Regions from separate parts of the Homo sapiens genome. Here region 1 is linked to region 2. Evidence: promoter capture Hi-C in 16 types of primary human blood cells and fetal thymus (Javierre and others, 2016). All regions are on one chromosome and are shown on one strand. Each heading gives the region's core, a stretch centred on a gene start or on the middle of the fragment in contact. The rest is flanking DNA. Distances are from core to core; before and after follow the strand shown.

Region 1 (7,295 bases), core at 4,037-6,536, 570 kb before region 2:
TCATTGAGACACGCAGGAAGGCTTTACATAAATTTTTGAACCGAATTGCTGATCATCCAACTTTAACATTTAATGAAGACTTCAAAATTTTTCTCACTGCACAAGCTTGGGTAAATGATTTTTATTTATACTCATATAATCTTTGGGTGTCTGTATCTATAGTAGATTGTATTGTTCCTCTTGTTTACCGTTACAAATCATGCAGTGGTGTACTTGAATTGAGATGGAATTTTTCAGAAACACTGGAGAGTTATCCTTCAGATATAACCCTGTGTCAAATCTACATATAAATATTACAGAAATCTTGTATCTTCTCCATATATATACACACACACACACACACACACACTCTCTCTCTCTCTCTCTCTCTCTCTCTCTAATGTTTTTATGTCAGGGTGCTTCTTGCATAAATAGCAAATACTGAACAGGTATAAATATATTTCTTTCATTGACACTGTAGTTGACCCTTGAACAACATGGCGGTTAGGGAAGCCAACCCCTTATGAAATTGAAAATCCATGTGTAACTTTTAATTTCTCAGAAACTTAACTACTAGTAGCCTCCTGTTGATTGGAAGCCTTAACTGTAACATAAACAGTTGGTTAACACATATGTATACCTTTTGTGTATTATATACTGTATTTTTTGCAATAAAGTAACCTAGAGAAAAGAAAATGTTATTTAAGAAAATCCTAAGGAAGACAAAATATACCAACAGTATTCTACTGTATTTATTGATACCAAGTTTATGTTGTCTGTTTACAAGATGAATTGTCAGTCTGAAATGGAGGGCAATGACAGTGGCAGACCTCAGTCTATGGTACTTAGCAAGCAATTCAACTTTTTTTGTAATGACATGACTTTTCTCTGCTTCTTGGGAACATTTCCAGCATCACTAGTGGCACTTCATATGGGTCCCATGGTATTATTTCAGGTTTATAGTATTGCACTAAACACAATAAAAAAAATACATGGGAACCACAAGAGATCACTTTTTACTGCTACACCCAATTTAATGGAGAGATGAACTACTCACATGGAGATGATCAGCGTCACATGGCATTTTAAGCAGATATTCACAACACTGGAGCTCACCACAAATAGCAACAGGAGGGCTACAAAAATAGTACAATAGTACAGTGTGTAGTGTAGTTAATTTTAAGCAGTTTTGATTTAATACTGCATCTTTATGTTTGTTTACATTTCTCTCAACTGCATATGGTGGCATGTAAGTCAAAATATGTGCATACGTTTTGATAAATTTTAACTTTTTATAATAGATTTATACACATTTTAGGGTAGTAAATGATAGACTAGTATCCACATACATTTTGTGGATTCATGACATACCTTTCTCTCAGTTTTTTCTACATTTCTGGACTATGTGGTTTGTGAGGTTTTTTTAGTTGTCACAAATCTCCAAAAAATTTTCCAGTATATTTATTGAAAAAAGTCCACATGTGTGGACCTGCTTAGCTCACACCTGTGTTGTTCAAGGGTCTACTTTATTTTGAGTAATAATGGATCAGGGCTTTTTAAGTTAGGATAAAAGTCCTTATTAAATGGGTAGATGGATGAATGGAGATGGATGGATGGATGGATGGATGGATGGACGGACAGATAGATAATATAATCTCCTTACTTTTCCTTTAATTATCTAAGTGGGGGAGTGTCTAATTTCTAATACAGAAACCTTATCCATTCTACTTGTTTTTTCTTTTATTCTATAAAGCTATAACTCTGCAAGAAAGATACCAGACAGGACAAAGGGTCAATATTAAACAGTTACTGGCAAATGTTGAGTTTTATATCTCTCAGTTGTTGCCAGTGGTAGAAGCTAAAAAGTGGTTCATTTCAATCTTGACAGATAGTCCTCTATGGAAGCCCTTTGTGACTTATGTGAAATGAATATGCGGCCTGACTTCAGAACCTTAGAAGCTGTTAGAAATATTTTCTACAGTCAACAGTTTCAGTAACAGCTTGCCAGTTGTGACGTGAGCTGTCTCTGATAATGTTTACTCTATCAAATGAGGCTGTAGCACTCTTGGATGGATGTATTGCCTGGTCAAGGATGGCATCTGTTATTATTGGCACAAAAGAAATCACACAGAATTGGAAATAAACAAGTTTACTTTGTATGTATTCTGCAAGATATTCAGGAATGAAAACCTGAAGGAAGATAGACAATGTGTTATTTAATATTTGGGTAAATAATATATAATATTTTTATCTGTAAATTAGGTAGTCAGCAGTATTTTATTTGATCATATATTTTATTCGATCCCAAGCTTGTGTCTCAACAAGGGCCACAATGATTATTAAAATCCCTTGTCCTTTTTTGTTTGTATTTGTTCTTTTAACTTATGCCATACTTCTCAAGGGATATGTTTCTGTGCAGTATATTCTTTTATAGGATGTTTTCTATTTTGCAAGTCTATAGTCGTCCCTCCTAGGTTAAGTATGAAATAACTAGTTTCGTATCTTATTACAAGTTTTCTCAGCTGGGCGCGGTGGCTCACGCCTGTAATCCCAGCACTTTGGGAGGCCGAGGCGGGCGGATCACAAGGTCAGGAGATCGAGACCATCTTGGCTAACACGGTGAAACCCCGTCTCTACTAAAAATACAAAAAATTAGCCGGGCGCGGTGGTGGGCACCTGTAATCCCAGCTACTCAGGAGGCTGAGGCAGGAGAATGGCATGAACCCGGGAGGCGGAGCTTGCAGTGAGCCAGGATTGTGCCACTGCAGTCCAGCCTGGGCGAAAGAGCGAGACTCCGTCTCAAAAAAAAAAAAAAAAAAAAAGTTTTCTCTGTAGACAGCCAGTTGGTGAAGGTGGTGTCACTGTTTACCCACTTCATTTGGCTGAAGTGCTATGTTCAGGTAGTATCTATTTACAAACCATCCTAATGACTTTAAGCGGGCAGAGCAAGTTGGTGCTTAATAATGAAGCCTCTGGAATCAGACTTCCAGGATTCCAGTTCTTGCTCTACCACTTAATTGCTCTGGGATTTTTTTTTTTTTTTTTTTTTTTTTTTTTGAGATGGAGTCTCGCTCTGTGGCTCAGGCTGGAGTGCAGTGGCATGATCTCGGCTCACTGCAACCTCTGCCTCCTGGGTTCACGCCATTCTCCTGCCTCAGCCTCCCAAGTAGCTGGGACTACAGGCACCTGCCACCACGCCAGGCTAATTTTTTTGTATTTTTAGTAGAGAGGGAGTTTCACCGTGTTAGCCAGGGTAGTCTCGATCTCCTGACCTCATGTATGCCCTCCTCGGCCTCCCAAAGTACTGGGATTACGGACGTGAGCCACTGCACCCGGCCTGCTCTGGGATCTTGAGCAAGTTAGTTAACTTTCCTGTGCCTCTATTTTCTTCTGTAAAATGAGGAAAATAATAAAACCTACCTCATAGGTTTATGGTGAATTACGTGTATTAAAATGTCAGTATAGTGCCCAGAATGTATTAAGCTCTAAATAAATGTTAGCTACTATTACATCTAAAGAATTAATGAAGTTTTCCAATTTTATTTTTTGGAGTATAACTTAGGCCCTGAGAAATCTTCTCTCAATCATTTTCCATTAAATTCCTATTATAAAATATAGATGGTATGTCATATTATCCTTATCTCCTCTAGTATCTCATTGAGCACTATTCTGTCGGTTAAACCCTGTTCTTTTAAAGATTTACGGTCTGAGGAAAGACTATATACCTGTTTTACATGAGTAGTGTGAAAGGGAATATTATTGAGGCTGCCACTTAGAGGAAACACTGTACCTTAATAAAGCTCATCTGCTTCAAGCTAACATTAAAAAAGATTGATGCCTATGAAACCATTTTATCTTGATTTTATTCTCCTAATTAGGTTTATTTTTGTATTGAGTCTCGGAATATTGAGACTTGTTTCACTAGAAATACTTGGTTTTTTGTTTCTAGGAACTCTCTTCTCACAAGAAGCAAGGTCCTGGCTTGCTAAGCAGGATGGGGCAAACCGTCAGAGCTGTTGCGTCCTCAATGAGAGGAGTTAAAAACCGCCCAGAGGAGTTCATGGAAATGAATAACTTTATTGAACTATTTAGCCAGAAAATAAATTTGATAGATAAAATATCTCAGAGAATTTATAAGGAAGAAAGGGGTAAGTAGAATTACTGAAATGTGATTTCAAAGTTGTTCAGTTTCTGATGAATCTTCACATTTGTTGGTGTAATATAGCAACATTCAGTTAGAATGTCAGCTTCAAAGTGTGGCTTATTCCTAGCCATCTTATGGACATTTCTGATTCCTAAATGATTTCGAAGGTAGTTATGGCCAGTCTCCATTTTCACTTTTATCAATCACTAGCTGCTCTACTTCCCATTCATAGATAATAGTGGTAAAGTAAGCCCGAGTTAAAGATTGTGGATGTGGTTGTTTGTATTCAACATGGAACAGAGCTCAGAATCAAAGAAGTGATGTTTCAGGAAATAGGGTTTTCATATTTTCTGGTAATTATTTTTTTCTGGAGGGAACAGATACTCTGTATTAAACCTGTCGAAGTATGGCAGAGAGATTTACGTATTGGAAAATCTGCCTCTTTTCCTATTTTCTTTTTTTTTTTTAGTTTATAAATCAGAATTGTTGGTGAATTTTTTTCTAATTCTAATCACGTGATGATTTTTTCCCCTAATTTTCTAATTGCATTTACTTACATTAAAAAATAGATAACTGAGTCAGCAAATAATTTCCTAATATAATTTGTTATTAGAGATGAGGAACTACATAAAGACAAACAAAAGTTCCTAAGTTGATGGCTTATTTGTTAATTGACCTCTACTTAACTGTACTGCCAGTCAGGATAAGCTGGGAAATATCTTATTTCTAGTATCCGGGCAGTGTTTAAACATAATAAGTACTTAATTAAAATTTGTTCAGTGATTGAAAAAAAACCACGAATGAACATAAGATTTGGAATGGTGTAGGAAAAGGTGCTTTATTAAGAATTGATTGGTTTTAAAAAGAGATATAGAAAAAAATTATAACTGCATGTACTTTGCCCCTTTTCTAACTTTTTTTCATGCATTGACCCCTGATGAGATTACTGTAGTGACTGAATGTAGTATAATAATTTATTTTAAACCTCTTTGGTTTGCCCTTACATTTATTATTTGTCTTTTTTTTTTAACCTGAATAAGTGAATTATTTTAACTAGGTTCTGTGATTCCAGTTCTATTAAGTAGATTCTGGATGCATAGTTAGGTGGTATGGCAATTCAAAGAGATGTCTGGAAACTATTGGTAGTTAAGAGCTTTATAAACTATCAATGAGTATCAAAGAGTAATTAAGATGGTACCTGTTAAGCTCACAGTCTAGTTGGGAAATATGTATATTAACAGATAAATTACAGTGCAGCTAACTAAATGTTTGCATACAGATTGATTTGAGTGGTATGTAAGCACAGTTTAGAATTTTAGGGCAGCTTTGCATATAAACATAAATATTGTTCAGGTTTAATGACTGACATTGACATATATTGAGAAAATGAGAAATTTGAGATTTCTCAATTGACTCAATTGAGAAAAGAAAGTGGAAAATTTTCTTTTCCAGAAATTAGTTCAGTATGGTCATTATTTAACATAAAGACAGGCCTAGGATCAGGAAGGTGGAGTTTGGAAGGACTACAGAGGTGATTAAATGTTCATTACATAACAACTAGTATCTCCATTGTTTTTAAATTTCATATTTTTAAACTTTTTATTTAATACAGACTTTTAAAGTTTTAGTAGTTTAGAGAAATATGACAGATATCAGCAAACCCTAATGAGTTGTAAGATGGTTAAATATAGATAATTTGATTGTATTTATATGGATAGTGAACAAAAAACGGTCACTGCTTATAAATTTTCCACCACAAAAAGCTATACATCATTGAAAATTAAGTGTGAAAGTAAGAATGTAAAATTGTAAAGACAGTCACATTTTAAAATGAAATCCAAAAATTTTTGAATACATAGCGTATCAAACACTGAATGGTCTTTGGTTACTCATGTATGCATTCTTTCATTGATATGAAAATATTTATTGAACTCATTACATATAAGGGTTTGAGATAGAAAAATAATAAGACTCAGTCCCTGTTTTAAGGAGTATGTGGCCAAGAGCATTTGAGTTATAAGACATCTATAATACAGTGGGATAATGCTTTAATAGAAGTATAAAATTATGATAAGCTCATTGAGGGCCAAAGCATCTATGAATCCTTTGGAACAGAATCAGAGGAGATTTATTTGAACTGGAATTTAAAGGATTAGAAGTAGTTTGTCAGGTGATAGAAATGGAGGACAAGGCAGAGGGACATGTGCAAATGTTTTTGTAAAGAGAAATCATGGGTTATTCATGAATGAACAAGCAATTTGGCTTGAGTTAAAATCTTTGGCAGAGAATTTCACATTGGACCTGGAGAAGCAGACGGTGAGGACTAATTTAACTAATTTAATTTAACTAATTCTAATTTAGCTACAAAGAGTCAATGTTTCTATACTCTGATAAAAATAGAGGGAGAATAGTTAGGAGACCCTTGAAGCAGTACAGATTAGAGATGCTGATGGTGGTGGAAGTGAAGATAAGTACATAGGTAGATGGATAGTTTAAGATCTCGAAGTTTTGGAATTGGTGATTTACTGGCTCTGTGTAAGTATGATTCTAGGATAACCTCCCAATTTTTTGCTTAGATTTATGGATAGTAATTACCACTAAGTAGAATATATAGTCAGAAGAAGGGGAGAAAGAAGATGCTAAGTTTTTTTCAGGGCATGTTGCCTGTCAGGTACTCAGATATAGTTGTGTGGTAGGCAGAAGCCTAAATAGATATGATGGTCATATAATTTATTTTTCAAGCCAAGACATTTTTGACACTGAAAAGGTATGTTATTATTGATTACACTTGGACAGTAGTCATTCAAAGACTGACCTGGGGCAAACTGTGATGGCTGGTTGATTTAATGAAGGATGATATCCGTTTTCTTATGTTCTTGTGTAAGAACATGTGCACTGTGAGAGAAATAAGGCCCTTTCTTACTCTCTAGGATACAGGTATTTTGAAAACTTTTGTTTATTGAAGAGCTTATTAAGTCTTTTTTTTTTTTTAGAATATTTTGATGAAATGAAAGAATATGGCCCAATTCATATTCTGTGGTCAGCGTCAGAAGAGGATCTGGTTGATACTCTAAAGGATGTTGCCAGCTGCATTGACAGATGCTGTAAGGCCACTGAAAAGCGGATGTCTGGACTCTCAGAGGCCCTGCTTCCTGTTGTACATGAGTACGTG
Region 2 (6,699 bases), core at 2,078-4,577:
GCCTCTCACATAGCCGGGGATCAATAAATACTTGTAGGTTGAATGGATGGACTGATGAATGGATGAGTCAGTTTTACATTTCACCAAGTGCTTTCACATATATCGTCACAATTAAGCTACCAGGCATTGTTGTCAGATAGTACCAGTACTCTTCTCATTTTACATAATAGAAAACTAAAGCTTGGAGATACTAAGTGATTTGCTTATGAGCAGAGTTCAAACATTACAAATCCTGAGCTCAAGTTCATGTCTTCTGACTCCAAATTTTATTCTGTTTTGGTTCAAATTTTTCTATTTATTTATTCTATCTCTGAGTTCTGTCTACTGATTTTTTTTATAAAATAGGGAAATCATTTGCCCTGTTCACTTCATTGCATTGTTTTGAGTACCAAAAGTGAAAGTAGGTAATATATATCAAACTGTTACCCCAATGTAAGACATTACTATGGTGTTTAGTATTTAAGGGAATCTTTAGCTTGATTGTTTTATGAAATGCTATATATTAGAAAAATAAAATTCAAAAGAAGAGAGACAGAAGGAAGGAGAATCTGACCTAATGAAAGATAAAGGATTTACAATAAGTATTGGCTTTGAATTCTGAAACATTTCCTGATCCTTGACAATGTGAGCAGGTCAATCTGGGCAGACCAGCTAGGGAGGAAAAAAAGAGTACCTTTCTGATGTTTTGACAATTTGTTGAATTGTTGATGTATGGTCAGCATACATCTCTGATATTTTATCACATACCTTCAGGTTTTTTTGCTATTGAAATTAGGTGGGTATAGGTTTAGTCTTATATTTCACCTCTTCTCAAATAAAAACACTGAGTTTCCAGGATGATAACATCTCTCTTAAGTTTAATATGTTCTAGCTTATTTTTTACCTCACCAAAAATTGTAAATTTTCTTGAGGTACCAAGAAGGTTGAAAAAAGAAAGGGCTCCAGTACCCACCCCCTCCACAAGACAAAGTAACATTGGTAGTAATGAAAAGTATAACTACTGATTAATGTAATAGTTAAACAGAATCAACAAGCACTTAATGAACATATACTATGTGAAAAACTATGCTATACGGTTATATAAGCATCACTTAATTTTATTGTTCCATTTATTTCTTCACTATGTACTGACAACCTACTCTTTGCCAGGCACACTTGTAGTTACCAGAAAACATAATAATGAAAATGTGCTTGACTTTACAGAGTTCACTAGTGGGTGAGGCAGACAAGATAAAAAAGGACACAGAAATACTTGATATACTATCAAATGGTGACAAATTCTATGAAGGAAAATAAAATAGTATAAAAGAATAAAGAGTAACAGAGGTCTGAGATTATGAATCTACTCGGTGCATCAAACACAACTTCCCTGAGGAGTTAAAATTTGTGCAGAGATATGAATTAAATGAGGGGTTAAGCCATGCAATTTTGGCGGAACAGAGTTCTTGGACAAAGGAACAGTAAGTACAAAGCTCCTGAGGCAGTGAAAGGCTAGGCTGGAACGGCCAGACCATTGAGGTGCAAAGTGATGTGAATGAGGTCCTAGAACCAGGCAAGGTGGCCAGGCAGGGCTTTAAGGAAGAGACGGGAAGTTTGGACTTTCCATTGAAGTGGAAGAGAGCTCTTGGAGGGTTTGGGTAGGGGAATAAAACAATTGGGTTTACTTTCCAAAGGACCTTTCTGGCTGCTGCGTAGGGAATGGTTTGTAGGTTGTGGGAATGGCAAATGCAAAAGCTGGTAGAACAGTTAGAAGGCCGTTAGGTTATTCCAGTCTAGGCAAGAGATGGCGGTCGCTGTGTGTGGTGGGGGGTGAGGGCAAGCACTGAGTTTAGGAAGAAGATGTAGTTCTCTTCTGATTACTTCTATTTTCTAAGTGAAATAAGAGTTAATGTCATGAACTGAGAATGAGGAGATTTGAGAAGTGAGAAGTTGTGAATGGGAAAATGGCTGGACAGAAAAAATTATAGAATCGTGGGGGCAACTCCAGGACCTACTTGGAGTTTGTGGTCATGAGTTGGATGTGAGACAGCATCATGCGGTTGTGTGTTTTTCTCCAGCCACTTTCAGTTGCTCTGGTAAGGGCAGAGAATTGGGTTCAACTAAGCCGGGATATTATCAGGTGAGTATGGCAAATTGGGAGGCGGAAACAAGCAATTATATTGCTAGACTTTGGAACCCAAGCCTGGCAGAAGAAAGTGGGGGCAAGAGGTGGTGTTGGCAGTGAAATGAGTATATTATTAGATAGGATGGTCCCATACTGCCAAAGACCTATTGGAGGAGCAACTAAAAAAGGGAAATGGATAAATGAGTTGGGAATTGGCCATCACATGCTTGAAATGGAGACTTGGAGATATTGGAAATGGCCTGGGACATGTGATCACAAAATTAGGTCATCTTTATTAGTATAATATCATGTCTCGTGTTTGCTGGGTCTTTCTCTCTTCTATATCAACTTGATACTTCTGGTTGCCAAAGTAATCACAAAATTGAGACTAGCCATGTATACTGCCAACAAGATGAAGGACTTTAGATTATTAATATCTGAAGACATACTTCTTTTTACTGTTATGATTGCAATACTGACACTGTTCTGGGGGTGTGACAGTGAGATTAGAACATACAGTAGCCTCTGGGCTCAATGAGGATGCCCATTACCTGTGCATTCACACATCTGCCTCTCTGGATGCAAGGAACCCACATCATTCCCACACAACCGGTAGTGTTTGTTAGTGGGTGCTTCGATATGGAAGGGAGATAAGGAGTCTCCTAGGCAGAGAATCCCCCGTAGGAGCTGTCATTCCTGGGTAGCAACAAGCTGTCAGTTAATGCCTACCTCAGCCTACTTTTCAGTATGGGATCCAAGATCTCATTTCGTGGAGGTAGGGGTTGGTTTTCTTGCTATGGGTCAGCGCGCTGGAGCAGGGCTTCTGATCCTTAGCATTCTTTAATAGCATTCCTAGAGTGACCTAGGAGGCTCCCCAGGAGGAGACTAGGTGGCTTAGCTCCTCAGCCTAACTACTGCAGAAACCAGGAGTGCGTCCTCCTTTTCGGATTCTTGACGTCAAGCTCCGACAGCCTTGGAGCGTCGCAAGGGCGGTAGAGAGCTGAGGGAGGGTGACAGGGAGGGGAAGCCATTGCAGCAACAGCTTGGAGGAGGGAGCTGGACGTCGTCTCTCGCCAGAAAAACGGGGAGCAGGAGCCAGACTAGGGGAGGAAGAGGACTGGCCCGCTCAGGGAATAGCTGGGTTGCTGCAAAAAGGGGCGGGGAGAAGGCGGGGGCGCTGCATGCAGCGCGCTGGCTCCAGCGGTGGCCGCGGGGAATGTGACATCAGCGGCGCCGGGCGCTTGGGGCTGGAGGAGGCAGCTCGCCTCAGCTGCGCTGTGCACACCTCGCCCGGGGGAGGACGCAGACCCGGGCAGGCGGCAGGGATGTCGGCGAAGGAGAGGCCAAAGGGCAAAGTGATCAAGGACAGCGTCACCCTCCTGCCCTGCTTTTATTTCGTCGAGGTGAGTTGGCCCAGTGCCTTGGCATAATGCAGATCCTCTGGGCATCTCCTGAGCGAATTCAGGTCCTGGACAGTGTTGGAGGCGCAGAGATCCTGCCGGGCGCGCGCGGCTGTCCCCAAATGCCCGACCCTCCCCTCTTCCCCTAGATTTCACAGCAGCTCCCCGAATGTGCCTGTGAATACCTGTCAGCCCGGGGTGATTACCATTAGAGGTGTCGCTGCTGGGTGGCCTGCAGGGAACGGATACCTGTGTGAGTGAGTGTGGTTTTAGTTCCTTGGCCCTCCTGTAGTGCCTGTGTGCACAACGTCCGCTAGTGCCCCAGAGGGGCCATGATGCCCATATTTCGGGATTTGTGTCTTCAACCTGCCGAGTACGTGTCGGGAACTCCGTGTGCACACAGCTATGCCTAGGGCATATGAGGGTTGAAGGTGTTTACATAGTACAAATATTGTTAATTGCTTTTATTGCTCCTGCCCCCCCCCCCCAAATCCTTCTCCTATTATATTATTTTGGTGCTCACATACGCTTCTGAAATTGGATCTGCATCTCTAAACATCAATCATCAATGTACTGGCCTCTTTCCACAGTAAAAAATACATATTATATATGTGTGTATACATAACTATATATAATATTTTAAATCTATGACATCATCTGATTTTACATGATTTGTATCTGAGTATTTACTGTGCTGAGCAGTATTATAGATAAACAATTAAATGCAGATGTATCCGTAATGACCCTCTAACTTACCAAAATGCAGTATTTGAGGGAGAAACAATTCATAGGAGTGTTATAAAGATTGGCAGATACAGTGATTCCGTGTACTGTGCTCCATTGCATTAGGAAGACATTTTTAAGCAAGAGGTTTATTAAATTACAGATACTGAAGGGTTGTATTGCATAGATTTAGGGAAATCAGATGGTTTTAGGCACAAAACTATATTCTGTTTAGTTAGAGTCTGGGTTGCATAGAGAATTATAAGACTGTTGCTGAATCATAAATATCCTTCTCTGGCCATCTTTTCAGCCAAATATGGAGGTTTAGCCCTTCGAAGTGCAAACAGTAGATTCTGTATTCAATGATTGTAAGGCTTATCTGTCCTGAGGAATAGTCACTGCCTTGAAACTTGGGAGAAGAGACATTGTCGGACTGTTCTTATAGGTAACAATATATTTGGAAGTTTTGTAGAAGTGTCATAGATTTTTTAAATAATTTCAGTTTCAAGAAAGATGTATGTGACTTGCATAACTTTCAGAGAAATGATGGGTGACCCCTGCATTCATGAACCATAGAAAAGAAGAAAAAAAAATCTATGTATTTAAAATAATGAATCCATTTATTATCCTTTCTCTTTTCACAAGAGATTTTTGGGAACATGGTTTAGGTAATTTTTGTTGAAAGATAATAAAGAGCTTTCTCAAGAAAAATGTAGGTAGCAGAAGATTCCATGATGAAAATGGTGAAGGAATAGAAAGATGAGATACCTGCCTTCAAGTTCAATCCATCAGACCACTTGTCGCATGGCTAATCCGTGTAGTTTTGTATTATAGTGATTTCATTTGTGTCTGAATCAATGACATTTGTCTAGGAGAAATCAGTTAATGGCTGAGTTCCATCTCCAGGAAGGAACACACCTGAGGTCAGCTAGAAGCTGACTACATGTGGGTTGCAGCTATATGGCTTCAAGGAAAATGCCCTCATGAAAGAGGAGGCAAACCAGAGAATTAAGGATGTGCCTTTACAGAATGTACGTGGGCGCTTTTGAGGCATCTTTAACCGGAGTACATGTCCCTTAAGCAAGAATTTTAAAAGTACAAGTGCCTCATAATGCAATTGAATTGTGTGTTTAGGAACAGACATCTCACAATTGTTACTTCTTTTCCATGAGTGGAAATAGCCCAGATTCATTACTTTTACTTTGGCCTATTCAGATACCCTCTATGAATTCCTTAGCAGGGCAAGCTGTAGAACAATTACTTGAACACAATTCATGGAGTTTAAATGAGCATTGATGACACTGTATCTTGGGGTTAACAGACTTCAAAGACAGAGCCACACAATTGGATTGCAAATTATCTTCCTAAAAATTAAATGCATGATGAACCACTAAAGAGCCTCCAGAAAATGGGAGACTGCATTAGTATAAAAATTATTTAAGGGTTTGACCACATGCACTATCACGCTCCTTTGAAATGACTCATTTTGAAGCTGGTGAGAATGCACTAAATTTACATCTCCTTCGTAGGATGAATAAACATAGCTGGAATTTGCATGTTAGTAAAATGCTCTAGAGTAATGACACTTTGCTTTACAGCATAGTTTCCCAAGACCTTAGAAATTAAGATGGAAAAGTGAAACATGAGTGAATCTCCTTCCATCACATATCAGTCTAAAGCATATATTTTTAGCCTTCTCTGTTACTCAAACCATAATTTAAGTAACAAGAAGAGGCTAACAAAACAGATCTCAGGAGAAAACAGTCCCTGGTTCTCAAGTCAGTGACACCATGAGCAACTTACACTTTGCCTTTTTTCAAGGAGTTTAGAAGTTTTAAATTACTAATTCATGATAGGTATGAGATGTGAAGAAACTTTAATTGGGAAAATGAGGGAAGGGAAACTTACACTCGAGCCAGAGGGGGCTGAAATCAAGATGGACTGAGTTGTGTCAGGAAAATGGCAGCATGCTCTAGGAAAATCCTGGGCCTTGCAGACAGATTGACTTGGTTCAAACACCGCCTTTGCCAGATACTACATGAATAATTCTGGCCAAGTTACTTCTCTCATCCTTAGTTTCTTCACATATAATAGAATTTACATAATATAAATATAAATACACCTGTATTCATACATAAGAGAAATTATTATACCTACATCTTAGAATATTGAATATATTATGAGGTTAAAGGATCATGACTGAGATATGGTAGGCAATCAAGATATGTTAGTTCCTTTCCTTTCTTATAACTGTTCTTGACCTGAAATAAATTATTTTACTTATAGTTTGGACTTAAGGGATCAAGTCCTGACAAGGTCTAGCTTAAGAGTTCCCATTGTTGAGAAGAAGTCATCTTCTCCCCAATTTCTAGAAATAGTTTGGGCTCCACAGGCTTCTTGAAATGGACTTGTATTAATTGACACAAATGGGGAGAGTGAAGTACTATTTACAGTTTGTACAAGAATAATGAC

What was found. The method cuts DNA at HindIII sites, captures the fragments that hold promoters and counts their contacts. A CHiCAGO score of 5 or more calls a contact.
Region 1: a fragment that was not itself captured here is called in contact with the fragment with the promoter of PLPPR4 in region 2 in 1 of 17 cell types (naive CD8 T cells); the score reaches 5.1 in naive CD8 T cells.

The regions. Positions count from the first base shown.
Region 1 is chr1:98,691,590-98,698,884 of GRCh38, forward strand. It overlaps SNX7 (sorting nexin 7), which reads left to right. Exons shown (of 9, transcript NM_015976.5): 4 at 1-110; 5 at 3,929-4,127; 6 at 7,117-7,295. Among named protein-coding and RNA genes, the nearest start is that of SNX7, 34 kb to the left of the region's middle. The HindIII fragment of the contact is 6,000 bases long and covers 2,287-7,295 here.
Region 2 is chr1:99,261,165-99,267,863 of GRCh38, forward strand. It overlaps PLPPR4 (phospholipid phosphatase related 4), which reads left to right and starts at 3,328. Exons shown (of 7, transcript NM_014839.5): 1 at 3,328-3,507. The coding sequence starts at 3,430. The HindIII fragment of the contact is 14,890 bases long and covers 179-6,699 here.